Regions from separate parts of the Homo sapiens genome. Here region 2 is linked to region 1. The links are contacts of gene promoters, found by promoter capture Hi-C in blood cells and fetal thymus (Javierre and others, 2016). All regions are on one chromosome and are shown on one strand. The core of a region is centred on a gene start or on the middle of the fragment in contact, and the rest is flanking DNA. Distances in the headings are between cores, read along the strand shown. Region 1 holds the start of PTTG2 (pituitary tumor-transforming 2). Region 2 overlaps PGCKA1 (PDCD10 and GCKIII kinases associated 1).

Region 1 (5,760 bases), core at 2,020-4,519:
GGAGAACATAAGCCCCTCATGAGTTTGTATAATACTCATGGCCACAGTTACACAATGTGGCAGACGTATCTCTTCCTTTCCAAAAGAAGGAAAGAGACAAATGTATGATACCTGATATGACACATGTTTTCATTCTTCACAATCATTAAAGTAATAAATAACACTACTTTTTAGAGACAAGGAATTTATCTGTTGACAGGAATATGTATTGCTGGGCACAGTGGCTCATGCCTGTAATCCTAACACTTTGGGAAGCCAAGGCAGGAGGATATCTTGAGCCCAGGAGTTCAAGACCAGCCTGAGCAACACAGCAGGACCCCTCTCTACAAAACATAAAAAGATTACCTGGGCATGGGGGTGCGTGCCTGTAGTCCTAGGTACTCAGGAGGCTGAGGCAGGAGGATTGCCTGAGCCTAAGAGTTCGAGGCTACAGTGAGCTATGATCACAGCCTCAGCAACAGAGCAAGGTCCTATCTCTTAAAATAATAAAAATAAAAACAAATAAATAAATAATATAGAAAGAGAAGAGAGTTGAGATTCCAAAACAGTCTTTCTGACTCCAAACTCCATTTTTATCCTACACCACTTTTTCATAAAAGTTCAGAACAGATTGTTTGATGTTTTTCTTATTGCTCATTATTACTTTTTAAAAGGTCAATTCTGACATGTGATTTACATTTCCTGACAAACTACATATCATTTTCCTCCCTCCCTTCTGTCTTTCCTTCCTTTTATTCTTCCATTTATAATGCAACAGATGATAGTTTTTCATGGTGTCCTGTAGGTAGTGTATTTTATTTTAAAATACCAGATAAAATTATCAGCAGCCACTTGTGGAAAGCTTCACTGGAAAATATTACTTCAACCATACTTATATGTTTTTTAAAATGCTATTTTTGTTGATCTCTGCTTAGAACAACAGAAACACAGATGGCTACAGTTACTGGATTTGCTGCCAGTTTTTATGCCCCTTTTCTCATATACGTTTATGGCGACCAAGTTTACTTTCAAAAACATATGCTAAGAATAGTAACACATTTTTCAGATTTGAAGTTGTCTAGGAAAAAAGTATGCTTCATATTAAGAAAGAGTCTGTAAGATCAACAAAGCAGATTCATCTCCTAGAAAACCCATTCTCTGAGCAGGCCATTTTCATCTCTAACCAATAAACACCAGATTCCTTAGCTTGGCAATCAAGAACCTTGACCATATCTGGTCCCAGATGATTCTTCATATTTTTTATTTTTGTTCCAAGATGGTGTACTCTATTTTCCAGCAAAATGGGACAGTTAATTTTTCCTCGTAGCCATGCTTTCCTCTGTTTTGTTCATTGTTGTTTCTTTTGCCTGGGGAGATTTCCTCTTCTTTTACTTAAGCATTCCGTCTCTCCTAGCTCCTTCTCTTACTTAAGCATTCCATCTCTCCTAGCTCAAATGCCACCTCCTCCAGAAAGTGTTCCTGGATTAGATTTGCTTTCACACCTCTAGACCTCCTTTATTTGTCCCTTCTTTAGGACACATATATGACATCTTTTACTTTAATTATTTCTGCCCCAATTCAGAGTACTATTAGAAGGCTGTTAATAAAAAATGAATGTGTCGGAAGAGTTGAAAGAAGTTGTTTAATAATAATTCCTGCTAATGGTATAATGAGACAGGATTACAGACAGGTGGCCTGCAAACTTTATTGTAAAAGTTGCCTACCATAGTGTTTGAAGAAAAACAATTCAATTGGAATGCCTGCAGATTGGCACACACACTCTACCCCACCAGTCTCCCCGTTCCCCATTGTCTTCCACTGGCACATCATATATTTACATTCCCTCACTGACTCTGGGTGGCACTTGAATTTACAAGCTCCATATAGAGGTTACATCAATCAGTTGATATACCAGGTCCAAGTCATGGCTCTGTCACTTTCTAGCTAGCTGTGTCAGGTTAAGAGCAAGACTTCTAATGATACCTTTGAATGGCCCTTTGTATTTGAGGTGGCCTTATGCAAATAAACAGGCACAGTTGACCCTTGAACAATGTGAGGGTTAGGGGCGCCAATCACCTGCATAGTCGAAAATCCACCTATAACCTTTGACTCCCAAAAAGCTTAACCGATAGTCTTCCGTTGACCTCACCAATAACACAGTCGACTAACATATATTTCGTATGTTTTATGCACTATATCCTGTATTCTCACAATAAAGTAAGCTGAAGAAAATGTTATTAAGAAAAATCATAAGGAAGAGAACATATTGCATTATTCATTAAGTAGAAATAGATCATCATACAGGTCTTCACCCTCATTGTCTTCACGTTGAATAGGCTGAGGAGGAGGAGGAAGAGGAGGGGTTGGTCTTGCAGTCTCAGAGGTGGCAGCCGCAGAAGAAAATCTGAGAACAAGTGGATCCATGCGACTCAATCCTGTATTGTTCAAGACTCAACTGTATATTTTTGCATATGGGCTCAAATACGTACGCACATATGTCACTGGGTCAAAGATTCATAGAATGAATTAGACAACAAGAATATTTATCATTGAATTGAAATGGCTCACTGCAAAAGTGCCCTCAACTTATCTCTAGGCCTTAGAAACAGAAGTGACCCTTTGCTGCTGTGAATCAATAGCCTGGACTAGATTGGGGTTGGGTTGGCAAAGGTATATAGTCATTGCCATAGTCCAGTATTCCTGCCCAAGCAAGCACCATTAGTAGTCACGTTGCTCAGAGAGGGCCTCTCGGCTCTCCCCACCACTGCATGCTGGATTGTCTGCCACCAGTAGATCAGAGTTGGCAAAAGGGATAACTCGGGATGAAACATTTGAGCATTTTGCAGTTTAGAGAAACTTCAGGGGTGCTGCTTTAGTAAAAAATGGAAGACTTGCATTTATTAAAGGTTAGTAAGAAGTGAAATAATGTATGCAAAAGTACATTATAAATTAGAAAATGCAATAACGGCAGAAACTATTTATTTATTGGTTGCTCTGCCCTTTACCTAAGTGGTTTTTGACCATTTAACAATGTGTAAGAGTTGGGTTTTACCTCCATTTTATGGATGTGGAAATAGGGCTTGGATGTTAGCTAACTTGCCCAAATCTTACAGCTAACAGAAAGTGGTACTCCCGAGATTCCTACCCAGGTTTGTCTGACCTCAGGCCTGTGCTCTTTATATGAGTTCATGCTAACTCTCAGATGATGTGCTAGGCACAAAAATTAGATATTACACCAATTTCCACTATAGTTAACATTCTATCTAAATATAAAGTGGGACCACGGTCTTAGATGAATGTGGCTGTTGAGAGCGGCAATAATCCAGAATGGCTACTCTGATCTACGTTGATAAGGAAATTGGAGAACCAGGCACCCGTGTGGCTGCCAAGGATGTGCTGAAGCTGGAGTCTAGACCTTCAATCAAAGCATTAGATGGGATATCTCAAGTTTTAACACGACGTTTTGGCAAAACATACGATGCTCCATCAGCCTTACCTAAAGCTACCAGAAAGGCTTTGGGCACTGTCAACAGAGCTACAGAAAAGTCAGTAAAGACCAATGGACCCAGAAAACAAAAACAGCCAAGCTTTTCTGCCAAAAAGATGACCGAGAAGACTGTTAAAACAAAAAGTTCTGTTCCTGCCTCAGATGACGCCTATCCAGAAATAGAAAAATTCTTTCCCTTCAATCTTCTAGACTTTGAGAGTTTTGACCTGCCTGAAGAGCGCCAGATTGCACACCTCCCCTTGAGTGGAGTGCCTCTCATGATCCTTGATGAGGAGGGAGAGCTTGAAAAGCTGTTTCAGCTGGGCCCCCCTTCACCTGTGAAAATGCCCTCTCCACCATGGGAATGCAATCTGTTTGCAGTCTCCTTCAAGCATTCTGTCGACCCTGGATGTTGAATTGCCAGCTGTTTGCTATGACATAGATATTTAAATTTCTTAGTGCTTTGGAGTTTGTGTGTACTTGTATTAATAAAGCATTATTTGTTTAACAACATAATAAATACATAAATATAAAGTGGGTCATATTCCTCTTTATGTGCATCTGTCTCAGCTGTCCCTTGTTTCTATATTTCTTCCATACTACAGCCCGTACTCTTTGGGGATATGTCAACATGATTTACTTCTGTAGAGAAACAGGAGACAGGAAATAGCAAAGGATAAAGGAGAAAAGGCCAGGGCCAGGCCAAGAACTTCTACATCTTTTCTTCCCAGCCTAGTGTGAACCAGATGAAAGCCTTAAGGAGGTCCTAGCAGCAAAGGGAGATAATTAAAAGAATGAGAATTTTGTGGAATGCTAAAAAAAAATAGGGAACATATTTGCAGCTAGGACTAACACTGATTATCTTAAAATGTCTATATGGCTAAATAATGTTCATGAAATCCCGTATCTTATTCTGCTAATGTCTTACAACTTAAAGCACTTTTATGTCCATGCCTTGAATTCTGTACAAAGCTTTGATAGAGTCACAGATGTCTGGTGTCAATCCAGATCACCTGAGAGGCTTCAGGGTTTCCTCTCTGGTTCCTGAATTCCAAGACTTAGTGAGTTTCCTAGGCCAGGAGCTGCTATTCATTATACATGTTAGTGGTTTTGCTCTTTCTACTGAAAGTGAGTGGTGGTTATGTCTCTGAACATGTTATTCCACAAAAAGCCAACTAGATGTGGCTATTTAAGAACCATCAAAGGCCATGACAGGCCAAAGTTTCCAAATCCCTCTTCAATCAAAGGATGCTGTCAGAACTGACCTCCAAAAAAGATGCAAGGTCTCAGTCCTAGGCTGTCATACTGGTCCTTAGAGAAGAGTTACAATTTTGTGATCTGCTCCACTCCATTTTGATTTTTGCTTCCATGCTATTTTAAAACTGGAGAAGGTTTAAGTTTAAAAATTCAAGACAAATCATAAAATATTTGAGAATTTACTTGTACATTGCCTGTCTTCCCAAATAAACTGTGGGCCCCATGAGGGCAGGGACCATCTCTGTTTTGTTCACTATGGTGTCCAAGTACTTCCCCCATATCTTGGAGCTGATTCTGTGGTGGGCTGCTCCAAGTAATCTTTATCTTGGGCCAGTAGCCACGCAGGTCAAGGATAAGTTTCCATTAGGTGTGGGCATAAGCTCCTACCCAGCCATTGTCCTCTTCACCAGAAGAACTAAATTTCATCTGTAAAGGAAGACATCACATTCTGTAAATGGTAGGGCCTCATTCTCCTGTAAGATTCATATTTCTGCATTTTGGATTCAAGAACCATAGGTGTATCCCATGGCAAGACAGGAAGTATTACTGGAGTCAGACTCCCTGGGTCTTAACCCTGCTTCCTCTGTTTAATGGATATGCAACCTTGGGCAAGCCGGTAACATCTAAAATTTTACTCTTATAGCTGTTGATAGAGACACTAAACGTTTAAATTTCTAAATGTTTACTGCCATATTTATGTATGGTTATTAGCATAGTAAGGATCTAAATGATATCAGAGTAGAAACTCAATAAATATTTGTTAGATGGATGAATAATTAACCTCTCAGACTTCAGTTTCATCACCTGTAAATAAAGAGGTTTAGCTATATGGTATCTTTGCAGTTCTAATATCCTGTGGACTTAGTTATGTTAGTAGTTATGATATTTTTTATTCTTGGTAATTTTTTCAGGATTACTATAAGGATAATAAGAAGTCAAATTCTAAACTGAAATAAGTCAAGGGAATTGAATAAAAACTTGGATAAAAAAAGAAAGTGTTTTAAAAATCACCCTAAGTCCAATGATCAGCTGGCCTT
Region 2 (5,114 bases), core at 676-3,175, 380 kb before region 1:
GATCAGGTGCCCCCCCAGGTCCACTGGCTCTGGCCCCAGCACAGTACTGATATCTTGCCTAGGAACCACAGTTCTTGTGGCCTAGGCTACCCTTCAAGTGTATTAGGATTGCAGAGCACTTTAGTCCATGGTGGTGCGGCTTGCCAAAACTCAAGTTCCAACAACTGGAATATATAATTTCCCTCTGGCTAGATCTGGTCCAAATGCTCCCTCTGTGTGTGGGTAGGCTGGGGGGTCGTGGCTTAGCTGATTTCAGCCTGGTTTTGCTTTCTGCTCTGATAGGGCAGCACTGAGTTCAAACGCAAAGTCCCCAAATCACTGTACTCTCCCTCCCCCAAACACACAGATGCTCTCTCCACGACATGCAGCCACTGCCAAGGAATGGGCAGCGGCAGTTCAAGATTGTCTTTCCTACTACCCTCTTTAGTGCCTCTTTCAGCAATATGAAGTTAAAACCAGGTACACTGATTGTGTACCTGATTTTTGGTTCTTATAAAGGTGCTTGTTGGTGTAGATGATAGTTGTTAAATTTGGTGTTCCTGTGGGGCAATGAAGTGAACATCAGTGGAGGCTTCTATCTGGCCATCTTGTTCTGCCCTTCCCCAAGAGCATTCTCTTATATAACCCCAGTACAATGTTCAAAAGCAGGTAATTCACATCAATTTAATACGATTACCTAATCTACAGACCTTATTCAGATTTTACCAATTATGTCAATAACGACCTTTTAGCAAGAAGGACATGCAGTGCATCGGCTGTCATGTCTCTTAAATCTCCTTGAATTTGGAAGCATTCTTCTGTCTTTCTTTGCTTTTTCATAACATTACATTATTTTAAGAGTACAGGCCAGTTGCTTTGCAGACTATCCCTCGTTGTTTCAACTCAGAGTATGCTCTTTTGTCAGGAAATCACAGAAGTGAGGCTAAGTTCTCAGTGCATCCTATCAGGAGCCACATGCCATTGATTAGTCTCATTATGGCACTATTACCTTTGATTACTTGGTTAAGGCGCTGTATGCCGGGTTTCTCCAACGTAAGGATAATATTTTGTCCTTAATCATATGGGGGGGAGCTACTTTAAGACTAAATATCCTGTCCTCCTCAAAATTTCACCCACTAGTCCTACCATCCATTGATACTTCTTACTGACATCAATTATTATTATGATGGCTATCAAATGGTTTTTCTATTATTATGATGGCTATCAAATGATTTTTCTAGTTCCAGTATTTCTCGTATGTTTGTTAGCTGGTTTCCTACTTGTAAGGTAGAGTGTTCCCTTTCCCTTTATGTATCTTAGTGTGGACTCATAAGTCCTTGTTTTATTCAATTGGCTACAAATGCTGTAGATTAGTAATTATTTTAATATTCCAGTTGTTCCACATTTGGCCAGTAAAACTTCTACAAGTGGATTCCTGTGTCCTTTTAAAATGTCCCTGTCATTCTTCAAAGCTATCACTATTTAAAGGCAGCTTCCAGATGGGTTGAGTCTTTTCCTATATGCCCTTGACTTCCTAATGAATACTCAGTTAATTTCTCTGCCTGGCTGGAGAACTCCTGGGCTTCCCTGGACTTCGCCCTTCCCCTACCTCCATTGCTACCCTCCCAGCAAGGAGGCTTCACCAATGACTGACATGGCATTAGCATGGCCTTCTTTTTTTATTGTTTGTTTGTTTTTGTTTTTGTTTTTTTTTTTTTGAGACGGAATCTCGCTCTGTCGCCCAGGCTGGAGTGCAGTGGTGCGATCTCGGCTCACTGCAAGCTCCGCCTCCCAGGTTCACGCCATTCTCCTGCCTCAGCCTCCCGAGTAGCTGGGACTACAGGCGCCCACCACCACGCCCAGCTAATTTTTTTTTATTTTTAGTGGAGACGGGGTTTCACCGTATTAGCCAGGATGGTCTCGATCTCCTGACCTCGTGATAGCCTGGCCTTGTTTAAACACAAAACAGAGTCAGCCCCCAACACAGGGCTGCAGAAGCAGGCGGCAGCAGCATTGGGTGGACACAGCCATCCTAATGGTGTTTGTTTTTCCCCTGTGTAAACTAAGAAGTGGTTGTGAAGGATTTTCCCTTTGTTGCCTGTTGCTTTTTTATGCTCCAAAGAGGAAGCAAATTTTGATTTTGCTCAGTAATAAAGGGTACCCAACAACTGAATTCTTACCTTTAAGCTAGCTGTTGCCAAAAGGGAGGCAAGGAAGACAGCTGATAGACTGCTCATTTTGAACCCAATCTTACGTCAAAAGAGCATATTTTTTTCATTGCTGTGTGTCACATGCTAGACCCGGAGCATTTCCTTGTTGCCCCTGGGCTTAGGAGAAGTCCTTGCTAAATGCAAGATGTAGAAGTGGGAGTGACATATGAAAAAAGAAATGAATTAAATTTGATATGACACATCATATAAGGAAGAATAATTGTAGACACAGGCATGCAGGGGTTGGGTGTGAGTACATTAGTCCCCACCCTTTTCGTCAGCAGTCACACAACCTTGGACATTAGAGCCTGTCCGTCTGATCTAGAGAAGGAATGTTGCTGGGGAAGGAAAACTCAGGGCGAGGTGAGAGAGGACAGAACCTCTAACCAGGAAGAGGCTGTCCCCGCCAAGCTCCGGAGAGGCGCGGAAGCATGACCCTCAGGTATGGGACCAGGTCTATAGGAAACCCATGTGGTGTGCCCTAATGGGAGGCAAGCCGGGGAGGACCCAAACTGGAAACCTGATTCTGAAAGAGGAAAACCACCACAACATCCTTTGTAATTGTGCAGCTTGGAAGAACAGTATAGATCCTGTGGTTTTCCTGGGGAAGGAGGGGAGCCTAAAAGCCGCAAATGATGTATATTTCCTTCAGAAGCAGGGAAGGGGCAGTTTTCGAGTACGGCTGTTAAATCTCAGCACTCACTTCATTCGGTGCAGGCTGCTCCTGTGGTCTTGGCTATAGCAGCAGAAGGCGGGGATGGAGGGTGCCCCAGGGTCAATCTTGGTCAGCCTCCGAGGAGCTGGGAGTGCAAGGTGTCACTCTGGATGTGCCTGCCTGCTTTTCCTCGCCTTCTTGCCCTCCTTCGCCTTTCCTCCCTCTTTTCTTTCCTCCTTTCTTTCGCCTTCCCCTGTACACCTCTTGAATTCACCATCATAAAGTTGACCTGAGATGTTTCAATGAGTAATGTTTTATGATTGCTTCAGTTACATTATTACAATCCAGTCTGCCTTCCTTGTTTCTCAAACAGTTCTAAGCTCTTTTCTCCTTTTCTTTGACTTGTTTTTTTTTTTTTTTTTACTACCTATCCTCCTGACTAGTTGTTGTTGTTTGTTGGTTGGTTTGCTTTTAAAGAGTCCAGGATAAACAAAGTATTGCAGGCATGAAAAGGGTCAGGATTTCAGAGCGAATTGTGGAGGGGGAGGGTCAGGAGGGGAGGGGAGAGGAGGGGAGAGGAGAGGGGAGGGTGGAGGAGAGGTATTGAGGGAGGGGAGGGGAGAGGAGAGGTATTGAGGGAGGGGAGGGGAGAGGAGAGGTATTGAGGGAGGGGAGGGGAGAGGAGAGGTGTTGAGGGAGAGGAGGGGAGATCAGAGGTGTTGAGGGAGAGGAGGGGAGAGGAGAGGTGTTGAGGGAGGGGAGGGGAGAGGAGAGGTGTTGAGGGAGGGGAGGGGAGAGGAGAGGTGTTGAGGGAGGGGAGGGTAGAGGAGAGGTATTGAGGGAGGGGAGGGGAGAGGAGAGGTGTTGAGGGAGGGGAGGGTAGAGGAGAGGTATTGAGGGAGGGGAGGGGAGAGGAGAAATGTTGAGGGAGGGGAGGGGAGAGGAGAGGTGTTGAGGAAGGAGAGGGGAGAGGAGAGGTGTTGAGGGAGGGGAGGGGAGAGGAGAGGTGTTGAGGAAGGAGAGGGGTGAGGAGAGGTGTTGAGGGAGGGGAGGAGGTGCACGTGCTTCTTCTCGCCTGTCCTATTTATCCAGCTCATCTATGAATTATCAGCAGAAAAGGAAAGTAAAGGAGGAGTAGAGGCTGGGAATAAAATCCTGGGCTTTAGAAATGGGGTAGTTTAAGAGTATTCTGAAAGGTACAATGTTACACATGTGTACACAGTTCCATAGCAAAAGCGATTTTTCTGTCTACGGGACTGTTGTTGTACTTGGGGTTTTCTATCTTTCAATTGGTGTCACAGTTGATAGAAATATACCATGTAGCCCTTATTCCAGAAACAAGTCCTACTTGACATTGTTAATACTCTTGTTTGTATGCATAGGTTCTGGCAACTAGATTATATCTTTCTTGGATACTAGACCTCCATCTTTTTCTTTTTGGGGGGTGTGTTTTAATATGCTGTATCCAAATGGGGTGGTTAAGACACCCCTGGTCTATGTTTATTATGAATGTTTGCTCATATGACCCCCAGCAACACTATATAGTAGGAATATTATTATCCCCATCTACAGGCCAAGTGACTGAGGCCCAAAGTCCCACAGTAGCAGGGTTTTCTGTCTCCTGAGCCCACCCTCATAACACCTGGGCGACACGGCTGGCACAAACTGGAAATGTCTTGATTGGTTGCAGACACACAACAGGTTCACTGATAGTGCTCTCGTTTTTAATCCATAGCCATTAAATCATTCATTCATTCCACATTTATTGACTGCCTGCTCTGTACCAGGTGCTGTCCTAAGTGCTGAGAATTAGACTTGAAGAAGGGTGGAGCACGGTAAGGAAAGAGGGTGGCAAGAGATGCACGGCTGGTCCGAGGGACTCTTCTACATTCCATGAGTCCTCCCAGGAAGAGTTGGAAGGACAAGGGGTTTGGTCCTCAAGCATGAAGTGATTTGGGGATGTTACTAGTTTTCTGTGCTGCTGCAGCAAATTACTACGAACTTAGAGGTTTAAAAAAATGGAAGCAGCCGGGCATGGTGGCTCACGCCTGTAATCCCAGCACTTTCAGAGGCCAAGGTGGATGGATCACCTGAGGTCAGGAGTTCAAGACCAGCCTGGCCAGCATGGTGAAACCTCATCTCTACTAAAAATATAAAAGTTAGCTGGGCGTGTTGGCAGGCACCTGTAATCCCAGCTACTGGGGAGGCTGAGGCAGGAGAATCACTTGAACCAGGGAGGCAGAGGTTGCAGCGAGCCGAGATTGTGCCAT

What was found. The method cuts DNA at HindIII sites, captures the fragments that hold promoters and counts their contacts. A CHiCAGO score of 5 or more calls a contact.
Region 2: a fragment that was not itself captured here is called in contact with the fragment with the promoter of PTTG2 in region 1 in 1 of 17 cell types (neutrophils); the score reaches 5.6 in neutrophils.

Annotation. Positions count from the first base shown.
Region 1 is chr4:37,957,129-37,962,888 of GRCh38, forward strand. It overlaps PTTG2 (pituitary tumor-transforming 2), which reads left to right and starts at 3,270. Exons shown (of 1, transcript NM_006607.3): 1 at 3,270-4,000. The coding sequence starts at 3,307. The coding sequence ends at 3,882. All of the region lies in intron 2 of TBC1D1 (TBC1 domain family member 1), which reads left to right. The HindIII fragment of the contact is 1,467 bases long and covers 2,098-3,564 here.
Region 2 is chr4:37,581,758-37,586,871 of GRCh38, forward strand. All of the region lies in intron 2 of PGCKA1 (PDCD10 and GCKIII kinases associated 1), which reads left to right. It also overlaps a transcript of RELL1 not described here. Among named protein-coding and RNA genes, the nearest start is that of RELL1, 100 kb to the right of the region's middle. The HindIII fragment of the contact is 7,650 bases long and covers 1-5,114 here.